5 separate regions of the Homo sapiens genome follow, and regions 1, 3, 4 and 5 are each linked to region 2. Evidence: promoter capture Hi-C in 16 types of primary human blood cells and fetal thymus (Javierre and others, 2016). All regions are on one chromosome and are shown on one strand. Each heading gives the region's core, a stretch centred on a gene start or on the middle of the fragment in contact. The rest is flanking DNA. Distances are from core to core; before and after follow the strand shown.

Evidence for each region. The method cuts DNA at HindIII sites, captures the fragments that hold promoters and counts their contacts. A CHiCAGO score of 5 or more calls a contact.
Region 1: a contact is called between a fragment that was not itself captured here and the fragment with the promoter of LY96 in region 2, in 1 of 17 cell types (activated CD4 T cells). The highest score is 6.0, in activated CD4 T cells.
Region 3: a contact is called between a fragment that was not itself captured here and the fragment with the promoter of LY96 in region 2, in 2 of 17 cell types (total B cells and activated CD4 T cells). The highest score is 6.6, in total B cells.
Region 4: a fragment that was not itself captured here is called in contact with the fragment with the promoter of LY96 in region 2 in 3 of 17 cell types (activated CD4 T cells, neutrophils and M2 macrophages); the score reaches 12.7 in activated CD4 T cells.
Region 5: a contact is called between a fragment that was not itself captured here and the fragment with the promoter of LY96 in region 2, in 2 of 17 cell types (activated CD4 T cells and non-activated CD4 T cells). The highest score is 10.3, in activated CD4 T cells.

What each region holds. Positions count from the first base shown.
Region 1 is chr8:73,819,152-73,821,996 of GRCh38, forward strand. The region is part of intron 3 of UBE2W (ubiquitin conjugating enzyme E2 W); the gene reads right to left. Among named protein-coding and RNA genes, the nearest start is that of UBE2W, 58 kb to the right of the region's middle. The HindIII fragment of the contact is 5,947 bases long and covers 1-2,845 here.
Region 2 is chr8:73,990,067-73,992,766 of GRCh38, forward strand. LY96 (lymphocyte antigen 96) reads left to right here and starts at 1,326. Exons shown (of 5, transcript NM_015364.5): 1 at 1,326-1,488. The coding sequence starts at 1,377. RefSeq lists enhancers at 1,568-1,667, 2,038-2,107. The HindIII fragment of the contact is 3,298 bases long and covers 1-1,356 here.
Region 3 is chr8:73,835,351-73,838,050 of GRCh38, forward strand. The region is part of intron 1 of UBE2W (ubiquitin conjugating enzyme E2 W); the gene reads right to left. Among named protein-coding and RNA genes, the nearest start is that of UBE2W, 42 kb to the right of the region's middle. The HindIII fragment of the contact is 1,549 bases long and covers 584-2,132 here.
Region 4 is chr8:73,802,572-73,805,328 of GRCh38, forward strand. All of the region lies in intron 5 of UBE2W (ubiquitin conjugating enzyme E2 W), which reads right to left. Among named protein-coding and RNA genes, the nearest start is that of STAU2, 57 kb to the left of the region's middle. The HindIII fragment of the contact is 3,630 bases long and covers 1-2,757 here.
Region 5 is chr8:73,785,754-73,788,590 of GRCh38, forward strand. It overlaps UBE2W (ubiquitin conjugating enzyme E2 W), which reads right to left. Exons shown (of 6, transcript NM_018299.6): 6 at 466-2,837. Among named protein-coding and RNA genes, the nearest start is that of STAU2, 40 kb to the left of the region's middle. The HindIII fragment of the contact is 955 bases long and covers 894-1,848 here.

The DNA of each region.
Region 1 (2,845 bases), core at 72-2,571, 170 kb before region 2:
TGTCACCTTCTCAGTGAAATCTTTCCCAGTGACTCTATCCAATATTTCAACACCCTCATCTCCCCTTCTGTACTTTTCCCTCACCATCTTCCATACTATATGTATTCTACTCGTTGCTTACTGTCTCTCCCCACAAGAATGCAAACTCCATATAAGCAGGGTTTTTGTTGCTGTTGCAGTTTTGGTCATCATTGAATCACCAGCACCCAGCACAGTGTCTGTCCCATGACACATCCTCAAGAAATACGGAATGAATATTTACCTATCCAAATACTAAACAGATTATAAACTGTTTAAAGGCAGGCCCAATGCCTTTTAAAACTCTGTACTCTCTCCCCTCTCTCAAGAAACAGTATTTGATACATAATTCATGCCCAATACATGTTGAATTAACCAACCATTTACCTGTATCCTAGCATAAAAAAGCAGAATATGTACATAGAAAGCTATTTTCTGTATGGCTGACAGTAAGTGTACATTAGCGGCAAGCAGTGATGAAAAGATGCCTCATCTCTGTTTCCATATTAACAGACAAATTGTTTGTTGTTATTCTTTCTTTTAAGGCAAATGACTGAGCCAAACATATTTTAGAGAGGTAACTTTTTCATTATAAGGCAGGACACAACATGAGACATAAAATATAACTGGCAGGAAGAAAAACACAACAAACCATAATGGTGTGTGACAGTCTTACTGATCTCATTTACAGGTACAAAAGCAGTAATTTCACAATGAGATTCATCTATTCTAGAAATATTTTCCAAATTCTACTCTTGTAACTAGTGATAAACTCAGTACTGTTCATTGCATAGAAAGATGAAAGACTTTTCTTTCTTTTTTTTATTAGAGATGGGGTTGCCCTACGTTGCCCAGGCTGGTCCCAAAACTCCTGGGCTGCCTTGGCCTCTCAAAGTGCTTGGATTACAGGCATGAGTACCATGCCCAGCCAGAAAGATGAAAGACTAATTTAGGTAACAAGTGCTAATGCTACAGAGTTTCATCAAATAAAATTTTGGGGGAATTTTACTGCCCTAGAGGACTGGTTCTAGCCACTTTCCCAGGGCAGTGGATCTCTGCAAAGTTTCAGTTATTGGAAAAATCTTGAAGTCTATAAGCACATCAAGCATTGATGTTTGACCCATTATAATTATGTTAAAACTATATAGATTATGTATAAATACATTTTAAAAAATTTTAACGTATTACTGGCCTCAGAGTAGTTCTGCCATTTTCCCAATCAATGGATATTAGAATATACAACCTCTATGCCATGTGAGGGACTACAGAATTAACTGATATTAAAAAGGAATCCTCACTGGGCGTGCCTATGATCCCAGTACTTTGACAGGCCGAGGCGAGCAGATCACTTTAGGACAGGAGTTCAAGACCAGCTGGACCAACATGGTGAAACCTTGTTTCTACCAAAAATACAAAAAAAAATAAGCCAGGCATGGTGGTGCATACCTGTAGTTGCAGCTACTCAGAGAGGCTGAGGTGGGAGAATGGTTTAAGCCCAGGAGGCAGAGGTTGCAGTGAGCAGAGATCACACCACTGCACTCCAGCCTGGGCAACAGAGCGAGACTCTGTCTCAAAAAAATAAAAAACAAACAAACAAACAAACAAACAAACAAAAAAACAAAATAAAAAAACCAAGCCAGGCATGGCGGCAGATGGCTGTAGTCCCTGCTACTCTGGAGGCTGAGGTGGAAGGATCACTTGAGCCCAGGAGTTGGAGGCTGCAGTGAGCTATGATTACACCACAGCATAGGTAGATGACAAAGGGAGACTCTGTCTCCGCACCCCCACCCCACCAAAAAGTAAATTAAAAAAGGAATCCTTATATTTCAAAAAGAGTGAGAATAACTGACCTAGAGCTTTCAAAGGTACCATTCATTCCACATATAATCTTTCACTTTCAGAGAGAAAATTACTACATAGATAAATAGGCATTTTTTCCACACCGGTACTCGCATCTAATTGGCAGTATGGCAAAGGAGGAAAGGAAAGACTTGGGTTTGGGTCTTGACTGTCCTATAAACTAGGTATTAAAACGTGAACAAGGCACTTCACTTCTACAAGTTTCAATTTCTTCACATATAAAATGAGGATGAATCTACCTCCCCTAACCACTTCATTAAAAGATGTTAGAAAACAAAATCAGAATGGAAGTTAAATTATGAAGTACTATATAGAAATATTACCATACAGAATGCATGCAGGTGCAGAAAAAGTTAAGTTTGGATGTGACTATACAGGGACTTGAATGCCAGGCTAAAAACTTGATTCCATAGGAAATAAACATTAAGAGGTTTTACTGTCAGGGGGTGAGGAATTCTGGGGATGGTGGAGTGAGACAGAGTGTGTGTGTGGTGGGGGGGTGGAGTGGGGTGTGGGAGTGTGTGTGTGGGGGGGGGGGGATGTGTGTGCATGTCCATGTGTGTGGTATGTAACCAGTGAGATAACTGTGCCTTCAAACAAATCTATTGGCACCGTGAAAGGATGTAGGAATTCAAAGAACTAAAGGCTACTGTAATGGTTCAAATAAAAGATAAAAACCTGGACTAGGCCAGGCATGGTGGCTCACACATGTAATCCCAGCACTTTGGGAGGCCAAGGAGGTGGGCTGATCGCTTGAGCCCAGGAGCTCGAGACTAGTCTGGGCAACATGGCAAGACCCCATCTCTACAAAAAATATAAAAATTAGCTGGGTGTGCCATCAGATGGCCAAATCATTATTTACTGGACCAGACCTTTTCAAAACTATCAAGCAGATAGTCAAGGCCTGTAAAGTGTGCCAAAGAAATAATCCCCTGCACTGCAGGCCATACATTTCAATCCCTCTATC
Region 2 (2,700 bases), core at 76-2,575:
TTTTGAGACCGAGTCTCACTCTGTTGCCCAGGCTGGAGTGTAGTGGCCCAATCTTGGCTCACTGCAACCTCTGCCTCCTGGGTTCAAGCGATTCTCCTGCCTCAGCCTCCCGAGTAGCTGGGATTACAGGTGTGTGCCACCATGCCTGGCTAATTTTTATATTTTTAGTAGAGACGGAATTTCACCATGTTGGCCAGGCTGGTCTTGAACTCCTGACCTCAAGTGATCCACCCACCTTGGTATCCCAAAATGCTGGGATGACAGGCATGAGCCACCGTGCCCAGCTGAGAATTTGTTTTATAAAGCAGGAGGCCCCATCCTCTGGGGGCCGTGGACCAGTACCAGTCCATGGCCTGTTAGGAATCTGGTTGTGGCTTGTTAGGAAGTGGGCTGCACAGCTGGAGGTTAACAGCAGGTGAGCGAGCATTACCACCTGAGCTCCAGCTCCTGTCAGACCAGCAGCAGCATTAGATTCCCATGGGAGCAGGAACCTTGTTATGAAGTATACAAGCGAGGGATCTAGGTTGCGTGCTCCCTATAAGAATCTAATGCCTGATGTTCTGAGGTGGAACAGTTTCACCCTGAAACCATCCCTCCCCATCCCCTCAGTCCGTGGAAAAATTGTCTTCCATGAAACTGATCCCTGAGGCCAAAAATGTTGGGGACTGCTGTTATACAGAGCTGTAGGAGAGAAGAATAATGCAGAGGGAAAAGGAGTGCCTGTCTGTTGAGACTTTCAGGGGGACCTAGGGACTGGTTTTGTTACAGTTGACTGGGAATTGTCTTGTTTATTTTATTTTATTTTTCATTTAAAAAATTTTTTTGAAATGGAGTCTTGCTCTGTTGCCCAGGCTGGAGAGCAGTGGTGCCATCTTGGCTCACTGCAACCTCTGCCTCCCAGATAAAGTGAAGCTCCTGCCTCAGCCTCCTGAATAGCTGGGATTACAGGCATGCACTACCACACCTGGCTAATTTTTGTATTTTTAGTAGAGATGTGTTTCATCATGTCAGCCAGGCTGGTCTTGAACTCCTGACCTCAAGTGATCCACCTGCCTCAGCCTCCCAAAATACTGAGATTACAGGCATGAGCCACCGTGCCTGGCCAAAGTGTCTTGTTTTATTTTTAAGTCTTTGATCACTCTCATTTACAGTAAGTGTTTGAAGAGTACATTCTAAATCATTTTTCTCTCTTCCTTTACAGGAAGTGCTCAAATGTTGAGCACACACACACAAAAAAAGAGGAAACAGTTGGATAGGAACTCAGAAATCATGTGACTGATGACTAAGTTAAATCTTTTCTGCTTACTGAAAAGGAAGAGTCTGATGATTAGTTACTGATCCTCTTTGCATTTGTAAAGCTTTGGAGATATTGAATCATGTTACCATTTCTGTTTTTTTCCACCCTGTTTTCTTCCATATTTACTGAAGCTCAGAAGCAGTATTGGGTCTGCAACTCATCCGATGCAAGTATTTCATACACCTACTGTGGTAAGTAAAACCGCAAAACAAATAATTGTAGCATCAACTATTTTGAGGGTAAGTTTTCACGAGAACCGTACACTGTTGTGGCTGGAACACACGAAACATCAGTGTGTTCCAGCTGCTGTGGCGGACGCTGCCAGCAGGAAAAGCAATAGCTGGCAGCTGCCCCATGAGAATGTTCTCGACCACTCACAGAGCTTGTGAGTCTCTAAACTGTGTTGTGCTTGACCTCCAAGTGCTTCTGTTCCCTGCGTCATCTTTCTCTACCCTGAGCCCAGTTTTTGGTTCTGCCCATTTTTAATAAAACCATCTGCTTCTGAGCTTTCACCTCAGCCTTGACACTTACTAGTTCTTCTTCTTGAGATGGTAGAGCAGTCCCAGCTGCTTCCTGGAGTTGATTTCTGCTCTAAGCTGTGACTCTTGAGTGCTCTTGGAATCATCCCCCTCACTGGATGAAAGCCTGGTTCTGTCACTAGCTGTGTGACCTTAAGCAAAGTACTCCAGCCTTTTTAGCACTGAAGTGAAAGTGATTTTATAGTCTACTTGATAAGGGTGTTGTGAGGTGAAGTTTTTTAGCATAGGGTCACATAGAGACAATAATACTCTTAATTTTTTTTTGGAGTCAGCCATACCCTAATACTATTCACTGGCTGTGTCACTGTCCCCTGCCCCAGCTGCTCATTAGCAAGTGTCCTGGGATCTGAAGGCACAGTGTCAGGCCTGACAGCTGTTTTGGTTCGGTACTTTCCACCGTGCTGCTTACCATGGGTTGGCTGCCCTTTTCCACCCACTAGCAATAGCTGGGAGGTTTAAAGTGGTGCTTCCCAAAATACCAGTTCTTTGAGATTCTTTTGGGAAAATAGGATCTATGACCTAATCATCTGGGAGAGATTTACAGATGTACTTTGGGTTCTGAGAAGTTCTGCAATAAAGGCACCTGTTTAACCACATTTTCAATTTCATTTGTTGTTTGTTTGTTTGTGTTTTAGTCTGGAGTGTATGTTAACTCTCTTGAGAAACATGCTCTGCCAAATGCTAATATAAAGTGACTTTCGGGAAATTGGGATAATTGCCACATGTGAGGAGGAGACTTAGGAGTGTGGCCAGTCACACACCATGGCCCTTCTCCTGGTGGGTTGCACTGAATTCCCTCCAAACGTATGTCTAAAATCTCTCCATGCTGCAAGATCCTTTTGCATTCCCCTCTTCCAGCAAGGC
Region 3 (2,700 bases), core at 108-2,607, 150 kb before region 2:
CACCCTTGTGTAGTTCCCTCCCTCAGAGCTGATCTGTGTGACCAATGGAATACAGCAGAAATGGTGTGTCACTCCCAAGATTAGATTATTTTAAAAACTATGGTTTCTGTGGCCGGGTGCGATGGCTCATGCCTGTAATCCCAGTACTTTGGGAGGCCGAGGTGGGTGAATCACCTGAGGTCAGGAATTCGGGACCAGCCTGACTAATATGGTGAAAACCTGTCTCTACTAAAAATACAAAAAATCAGCTGGGCGTGGTGGCATGCGTCTGTAATCTCGGCTACTCGGGAGGCTGAGACAGGAGAATTGCTTGTACCCGGGAGGCAGAGGTTGCAGTGAGTGAGATCAAGCTGCTGCACTCCAGCCTGGGCGAGAGAGCGAGACTTTGCCTCAAAAAACAACAAAACAAAACAAAACACTATGGTTTCTGTCTTGGTAATTCTCTCTCTCAAATCACTTGCTCTGGAGGAATCAAGCTATCATGTTGAGAACAGCCTAATTCAGAGGCCTTCATAGTGAGGAACTGAAACCTCCTACCAATAACCATGTGATGATTTGTAGGCAAATCCTTCAATTCAAATCAAGCTTTCAGATGACTACTATCTTAGCCAGTACCTTACCTGCAAACTCAAGAGGGACCCTAAGCCAGAATCAAACAACTATGCCTCTGATTCCTGACCCTCGGAACTGTGAAATAACATTTGTTGTTTTAAATCGCTAAGTTTAAGGGTTTGTTACGCACTGATAGATAATACAGGACCACTGCTCCATCCTCCCCTCCATCCCAGAAGGGACTGTCATCTACTTCCTCATCAATATCACTAAGTCACAATCTAAGACATTCACTGGACCATGCTTTTTTACTGAGGGGGTGGAATTATTACATTAAAAAAAGACAATTCATGCCAGCCCCCAGCCTTCTTAGCTACTAGGCAATAAACTGCCTTGCATATTCACATCCCCTGAAATAGTGAGAGAGAAGGGCCAGCATTTGGGGGGTTAAATGAGTACATACTACATTCACAAATAAAACATTTTTTAAAAAGATACAAACAGTGAAAGGTCAAGCAATGTGTAGTATCTGTTCTGCAGATTCACAAAAACAGAATTCACCCTTAGTTGCATTCTTCCCAGAACAACAGTTCATTAGACAGGGCAGGAAAAATCCTGAAGTCGTGATTCTAAAAAACTAGTTCTAAGTTTCCCAAATGTAGACATGGAAGAGCTGAAAGAAAATGATTTAAAGAGCTGCATGTAAAGATAAATGAAAATTCACATTTTGTTTGTAAATATGAAGAACTAGTATGACCTTTTAGAGGTCACACAATCCAGAAAGCTATAATCACATGAGGCTGCATTCACCTATAAATGAAGACAAAGTATTAACAAATTTGTTAAGAAACACTAGTATTTAGGACAGAACACTTGCTAAAGGTATGACACCACTGGCTTATAAAACCATCATGGCCATACTGGCCTGCTTTCCCAAGTGGTAGGGAAAATGGCAGCTACAGATTGAGATAACTACAAAATGGAAAATAACTGCAGAATGTTAAGTACTGTAAGTAAAGCAGCAGAAACACCCAGAAACCATGGGGGAAAAGGGAGAAGAGGACATGAGAAATTAGGTTCCAGTGGTTCATAGCCAAATATTACCCTTGTCTGTCCCAAAATTGGTGAGGTATGGGAAAATTAACCACAAATATACTACTCTCCTCTGAATCTAAGACACGCCATCAATTGTAAGATGCATCATCATTTTATGTGTCACTAGGAAAGAAAAACTGCTGCCAATTAAACAATGACACACCTTCAATAACACATATCCTGATTTGAAAGATGTTAAAATATGGAAAAAGTGCATTTAAAAAAATGAAGTGGGTCGGGTGCGGTGGCTCATGCCTGTAATCCCAGCACTCTGGGAGGCCGAGGCAGGTGCATCACCTGAGGTCAGGAGTTCGAGATCAGCCTGGCCAACATAGTGAAACCCTGTCTCTACTAAAAACATAAAAATTAGCCAGGCGTGGTGGTAAGTGTCTGTAATCCCAGCTACTCAGGAGGCTGAGGCAGGAGAAATGTTTGAACCCAGAAGGCGGAGGTTCCAGTGAGCCAAGATCGTGCCACTGCACTCAAGCTTGGGCAACAGAGTGAGACTCTTGTCTTAAAAAAAAAAAAATTATGAAGTGGTATTAAAGAGTTTAATTTTCCTAAGTCTACTGAAAAATAAAACTTCGAGTATGTTTCTGAGTTAACTTTTTAAAATTGATTTAAAAATATATACTTTGTAGAGACAGGTTTTAGCTGTGCTGCCTGGCCTGGTCTCAAGTGATCCTCCCACCCCAGCCTCCCAAAGTGCTAGGATTACAGGCGCAAGCCATTGCACCCCCAGCCCTGAGTAAATTTAATAACTGATTCTTATCTTGGTATTTAACACCTACCCCAAAACACATGACTTCAGCAAATCTTTAAATATGCACTTTATTCCCAGAATTTGCATAGGAGTGCACAGACATCTATCCTCCCCAGGGCGAAAAGGCCTAAAGTTATTTGCAAAAGAATCTCATTCCAGAAGAGGCTGTTTCCTTTTTTTTATTCTTCCATCCAAAAAAGCCAGTCAGGTCCAGAATGTAAATGTTTTGAAGCATCTCAAATCTGGAGAAAACCTGAAAACTCTAGCCCTTACCTTGTGTTGGTTCAAGT
Region 4 (2,757 bases), core at 158-2,657, 190 kb before region 2:
GAAAAAAAACATTTTTTTGGTTATATTTTAAAAATAGGCCAGGCGCAGTGGCTCACGCCTGTAATCCCAGCACTTTGGGAGGCTGAGGCAGGCGATCACCCTGAGGTCAGGAGTTCGAGACCAGCCTGGCCAACATGGCAAAACCCGTCTCTACTAAAAATACAAAAATTGGCCGGGTGTGGAGGCTCATGCCTGTAATCCCAGCACTTTGGGAGGCCGAGGTGGGTGGATCACGAGGTCAGGAGATCAAGACCATCCTGGCTAACACAGTGAAACCCCGTCTCTACTAAAAATACAAAAAATTAGCCGAGCGAGGTGGCGGGCGCCTGTAGTCCCAGCTACGCGGGAGGCTGAGGCAGGAGAATGGTGTGAACCCTGGGAGGTGGAGCTTGCAGTGAGCCGAAGTTGCGAAACTGCACTCCAGCCTGGGCGACAGCAAGACTCCGTCTCAAAATAAATAAATAAATAAACAAAAATAAAAATAAAAATACAAAAATCAGCTGGGCATGGTGGCGCGCCTGTAATCCCAGCTACTAGGGAGGCTGAGGGCAGGAGAATTGCTTGAACCCAGGAGGCAGAGGATGCAGTGAGCCTAGATCACGCCACTGCACTCCAGCCTGGGCAACAGAGCGAGACTTCATCTCAAAAAATAAATAAAAAATAAATAAATACAAATACTGAACCCACAAGAAATATTTTATGCAGTGAAAATATTCCTTCTCCAAAGGATTACAGATTTTCCAAGATGATTACTTACTAAATAATCCTTCCCCTTATCACTGATTTGTAATGCCTTATCATATATTCAAATGTTATATTCAACTGGGCCTAAATAAGAGGAACTGTATTTCAATGATCTGTTCTTCTATTAGTATTTTTAGTGTCCTGTCTGGTAGATTAATTCTCCATTACCTTTATGGCTCAAAATTCAAACTTTGTTCTTCTCATCTACTATTTTTTTCCCAAACTTTTCAAACACCTATCTCCCTTCCCACCCCCACAATCATTCACTGGATTTGTAATGAACTCCATCGAACCTACAGTTTGTAAAATACACGTATTTTTATTTCACAGCTCTTAAAGTTTTGCCATTTTCTTCTTCTTCTAAGTCATATGTATTTCTTATTGATATTACCCCAAATTTTCACATTTCTGTCTCTCAGGAACAGCATATTTCTTTGTTTTCTTTTTTCTTTTCTTTTTTTTTTTTTTTGAGACGGAGGCTTGCTCTGTCGCCCAGGCTGGAGTGCAGTGGCGCGATCTCCGCTCACTATGAGCTCCGCCTCCTGGGTTCATGCCATTCTCCTGACTCGGCCTCCCGAGTAACTGGGACTACAGGCGCCTGCCACCACGCCCGGCTAATTTTTTGTATTTTTAGTAGAGACAGGGTTTCACCGTGTTAGCCAGGATGGTCTCAATCTCCTGGTCTCGTGATCCACCCACCTCAGCCTCCCAAAGTGCTGGGATTACAGGCATGAGCCACCACGCCCGGCCACTTCTTTGTGTTTTCTAATTTTTAACTACTGGCATAGTTCTATTGCACTGACTCGGGTCATCTTTTCGTTCAACACCTGGGGAACTTTTAAGTTTTTAATTCACTCAATTTAGGTGAGGATACAGAAGGCTTCACACTGGATAGAAGATACGGGGAGAAGGTCATAGTTCAATTAGTTTTTGCTAGTTCTAATTTATTATCAGGTTAACATTAAAAAAAAAAAAAAACCCACACACATAAAAAACCCCAAAGGCAATACTCTTATGTATACAAAAATCACAGGGGATGGTTTTTGTTTACTTGCTTCAAAAACTACATTGAAGAATACAGACTTTTTGTTTTTAATTTCAAATAACTCTTCAGGGAAGCATTAAGGTTAGTTTAGAAATACTAGCAGCTCTGAATTATCATTACCATCCCAACAAATACAATAGAAATTTAAAATTAGAGAGTACTTTATTAATACAACTACAATCAGCAGAATCTCACTTTTTTTTTTTTAAGGGATAATGATTAGAATAGAGAGCTTTCTAATTTAATGAGGTACCCCTTACTGTGACTCCCGCCTCCTCCCGGCCATGAATACTACCAGAACTAAATGAACAAACAAGGCATCAAAACTTCTATTTCAAACAACAGACTTCCCAGTAACTAGTTCTTTTTTTTTTTTCCTTTGGAGATAGAGTCTCATTCCATCACTGTCACCCAGGCTGGAGTAGAGTAGCGTGATCTCAGCTCACTTCAACCTTCGCCACCAGGGTTCAAGTGATTCTCATGCATCAGCCTCCAGTGGAATTAGCTGCAAGCCACCACGCCCATCTAATTTTTGTACTTTTAGTAGAGACGAAGTTTCACCATGTTGACCAAGCTAGTCTTGAACTCCTGACCTCAAGTGATCTGCCCACCTCTGCCTCCCAAAGTGCTGGGATTACAGGCGTAGGCCACCATGCCTGGGCTCCCAGTAAATAGTTCTAATTTGATCTAAAGATTATTAACAACTTCTTTTCTGTAATACAATGGTAGAGTCTCCGAATGTCAAAGTAATTTTACATTTTACTTTTATGATGGCTATGATTTTGTTTGCCCCATTAAAAATCTGGTGTAGTGCTGGGCGTGGTGGCTCACGCCTGTAATCCCAGAACTTTGGGATGCCCAGGTGGGCAGATCACCTGAGGTCAGGAGTTCAAGACCAGACTCATCAACACACAGAAACCCCATCTCTACTAAAAATACAAAATTAGCTGGGTGTGGTTGCACATGCC
Region 5 (2,837 bases), core at 121-2,620, 200 kb before region 2:
TATTTTATTTTTAGTAGATACGGGGTTTCACCATGTTGGCCAGGCTGGTCTCAAGCTCCTGACGTGATCCACCTGCCCAAAGTACTGGGATTACAGGCGTAAGCCACTGTGCCTGGCCCATCTTTATGCATGACAGTACTTTTCACAGACATGTTTCTTTGATAATCAGAAACTATCTGCACCTCTTAAGGCTTGTCACATTTTATATGATATGCTTTTCTATTTATTATCTCCCTTATTACATATGCCCTTTGAAGATATATACCTCATCTGCCATCCTTCTTGGCATATGAAAGGCACACAATAATTATCTGCTTAATGCTGGTTTTTAAACTCTATGTCAGGTTTACCTTTATGATTTTATGGTTCCTGAGATGTATTTAGTTTAAAACAATTAATTTGTGACAAGCAATTTGCCTCAGAGATAAAGATATGAGAAACACCTATAAAAAAAGCCAAAACCAATGAAGAATGATTAATGATTTATTTAAAAGTAGTTTTCTCAAACTCTCTGGGATAGAAAGAGCAGGGTCCTGTTATACATTTTACTCAGGTGGTGGTTCTGGATATATGTTTCAAAATAGCTAGCACCTAAGTTTCTTTGAGAAAGCTAGGATAAAAATACAAGCATAACCAAGTTAATTCAATACACACTTATTAAATGCCTATGTGCTACAGGTACTGTATACTAGGTACTGTGTGCTACGTGCTGGGGACACAAACACAATTGCAACACTGTCCCTACTGTTAAAAAGTTCAGGATAGATGACTGGTAGGGAGAGAAGAAAGGACAAGGATGATAACCTTTCAGCTACCTTTGAACTAGACCTTTCAGGTAGAAACGCAGATCATGAACATTCTAGGAGGGAAGAACATTAGCAGACGGCAGTGGAAGCTTGCATTGCTACTGCTTATGAAACAAGGTTTGTGGACAGCTGAAGAGCAGCCTAGGGACACCAAGGCCAGGTAGTGAAAGGCCCTAATGGTAAGGAGACTGGAGAGAAGGTAGAAATCTCAGAGACATTTTAAAGTTACACTCAACAGGACTTGAAAAATGCAAGGAGAGGACTACTGAGTATCATTGCTTGATTAAGTTGGATGGGAATGTCATTAAATTATAACAGGATAAAAGAAATATGTTTTCATTGAGGTATGGAAACATAAAATTTTAATGTTGAATTGGCTATCTGCAGGATACAGCCATCTATATTAGGATCTTGTCTAATGACATATATTCACCCACATTAAGTCCCTGAAGGCCAGATACAGACATGAGAAGATATTTCCTACCTTAGTTGATAAACTTTCCTTATTATTTCCATAATCCACTTAACTGTAAAGGGCGTAGGGATTCCCACTTATGTATTTTGCATTATGCAGGCAAACATTAAAAATAAATCTTACAGGCAACTAAAAAAATGGTTGAAAGGGGCTCCCAACAGGACAGATAACCACAGTGGCTTTGAGCTTTGTTGTCCAAGTACACAAAACTCTTAGCTGTCTCACTTGCTTCTTCAATTTAGCTTATGTTTAATTTTGTTACGTGTTATGTTAGTGTGAAAATGAGTAAGAAATATAGGGAGGACATAAACAGAGTCACTTATCCAGGGTAGCTTAAACTAATGGAGAAAAGTCAAATCCTACTATGGAAAGTAGAAATTAAGGATTATAATAAAGGAAAAGGGCATCATCAAAGTACAAAAGATGGTTCATATATTTATCTAACCATCTACTAACATAGTTGTGTAGGACGGCAGGAACAGCTTGAGACATGATCGTTTTTATGGCAGAATGGCTGCCTCAATGAGGACTAAGGTGCTCCTGGGGCAAGCAGATCCCCTGCAGAAAAGCTTAGAATTACCAGCAGAGCATATTTAATTCCTCCTGTCAGGAATAACAGATGCTGAGATAGCCCCTTCTTGTGGTTATTTCTTTCCTCTTCTTGCAGCTTCAAGAGTCACTCATTTAAGTCATTAGTTGATCTGTTTGTATACTCCAGAAAGCATCCAGAAGTTCTTAGAGTATGCCCTTAATTGTACAACTTGAAGTTCAGGAACATCGGACTCACGATAACTCTAAGCAAGTGCCTGGGTCTCCATTTCCATCTTCACTGAAAACACTCAGTCTTTAGTTGGGACTTATTAAAACACTAAAACTAGCTACATATTACATAAAGGTGATGTGTTAAATAGATGGTTTAAGTGACTATCTTCATTCTGTTGCACTCATTTTGGAAATGGACATGTTCCTGTTTCTATAATCCTTTAAAATTCAGTCTTTTGTGAAGAGAAACTACTGTACAAATACTTTTACGTCATAAACCAAAAAGAGGTCTGGTATCTATCCCATTTAGTATTCAAGTCTACAGAAAAAATCCAATAACAACTGCTTTATTATTAAAAGTTATGAAATTCCATAAAGCAAAGTAATCTGCATTCAACTAACAAGTCTGATACATGTATTAAAAAATATATAACATAGATTTGTCTGTTTTAACATTTATATTCTATTTAAAAAGTAGTGACTTTACATATTTTGCAACTTGAGTTTATAAAATATATACATCCACCCTATTCAAATCCTCAAGCATGAGCTTTCATTCCTATTAATAAAATGCACACTCTGTAGTTCTGAATAATAAAAGGAAAATGGCACCAACTAAAACAAACAAATTCATTTTGACCTGAACATGCATTTAGTTTTTGGCTACTAATCAACCCAATAATCCATTTTACCTTGAACCTGACCACCAATTTGCCTTTACATAAACAATCTGTGGTTAACTATGAAAAGATGCATTTTCATGGTATCTGACACAATTTACCAAGTTCCTTATG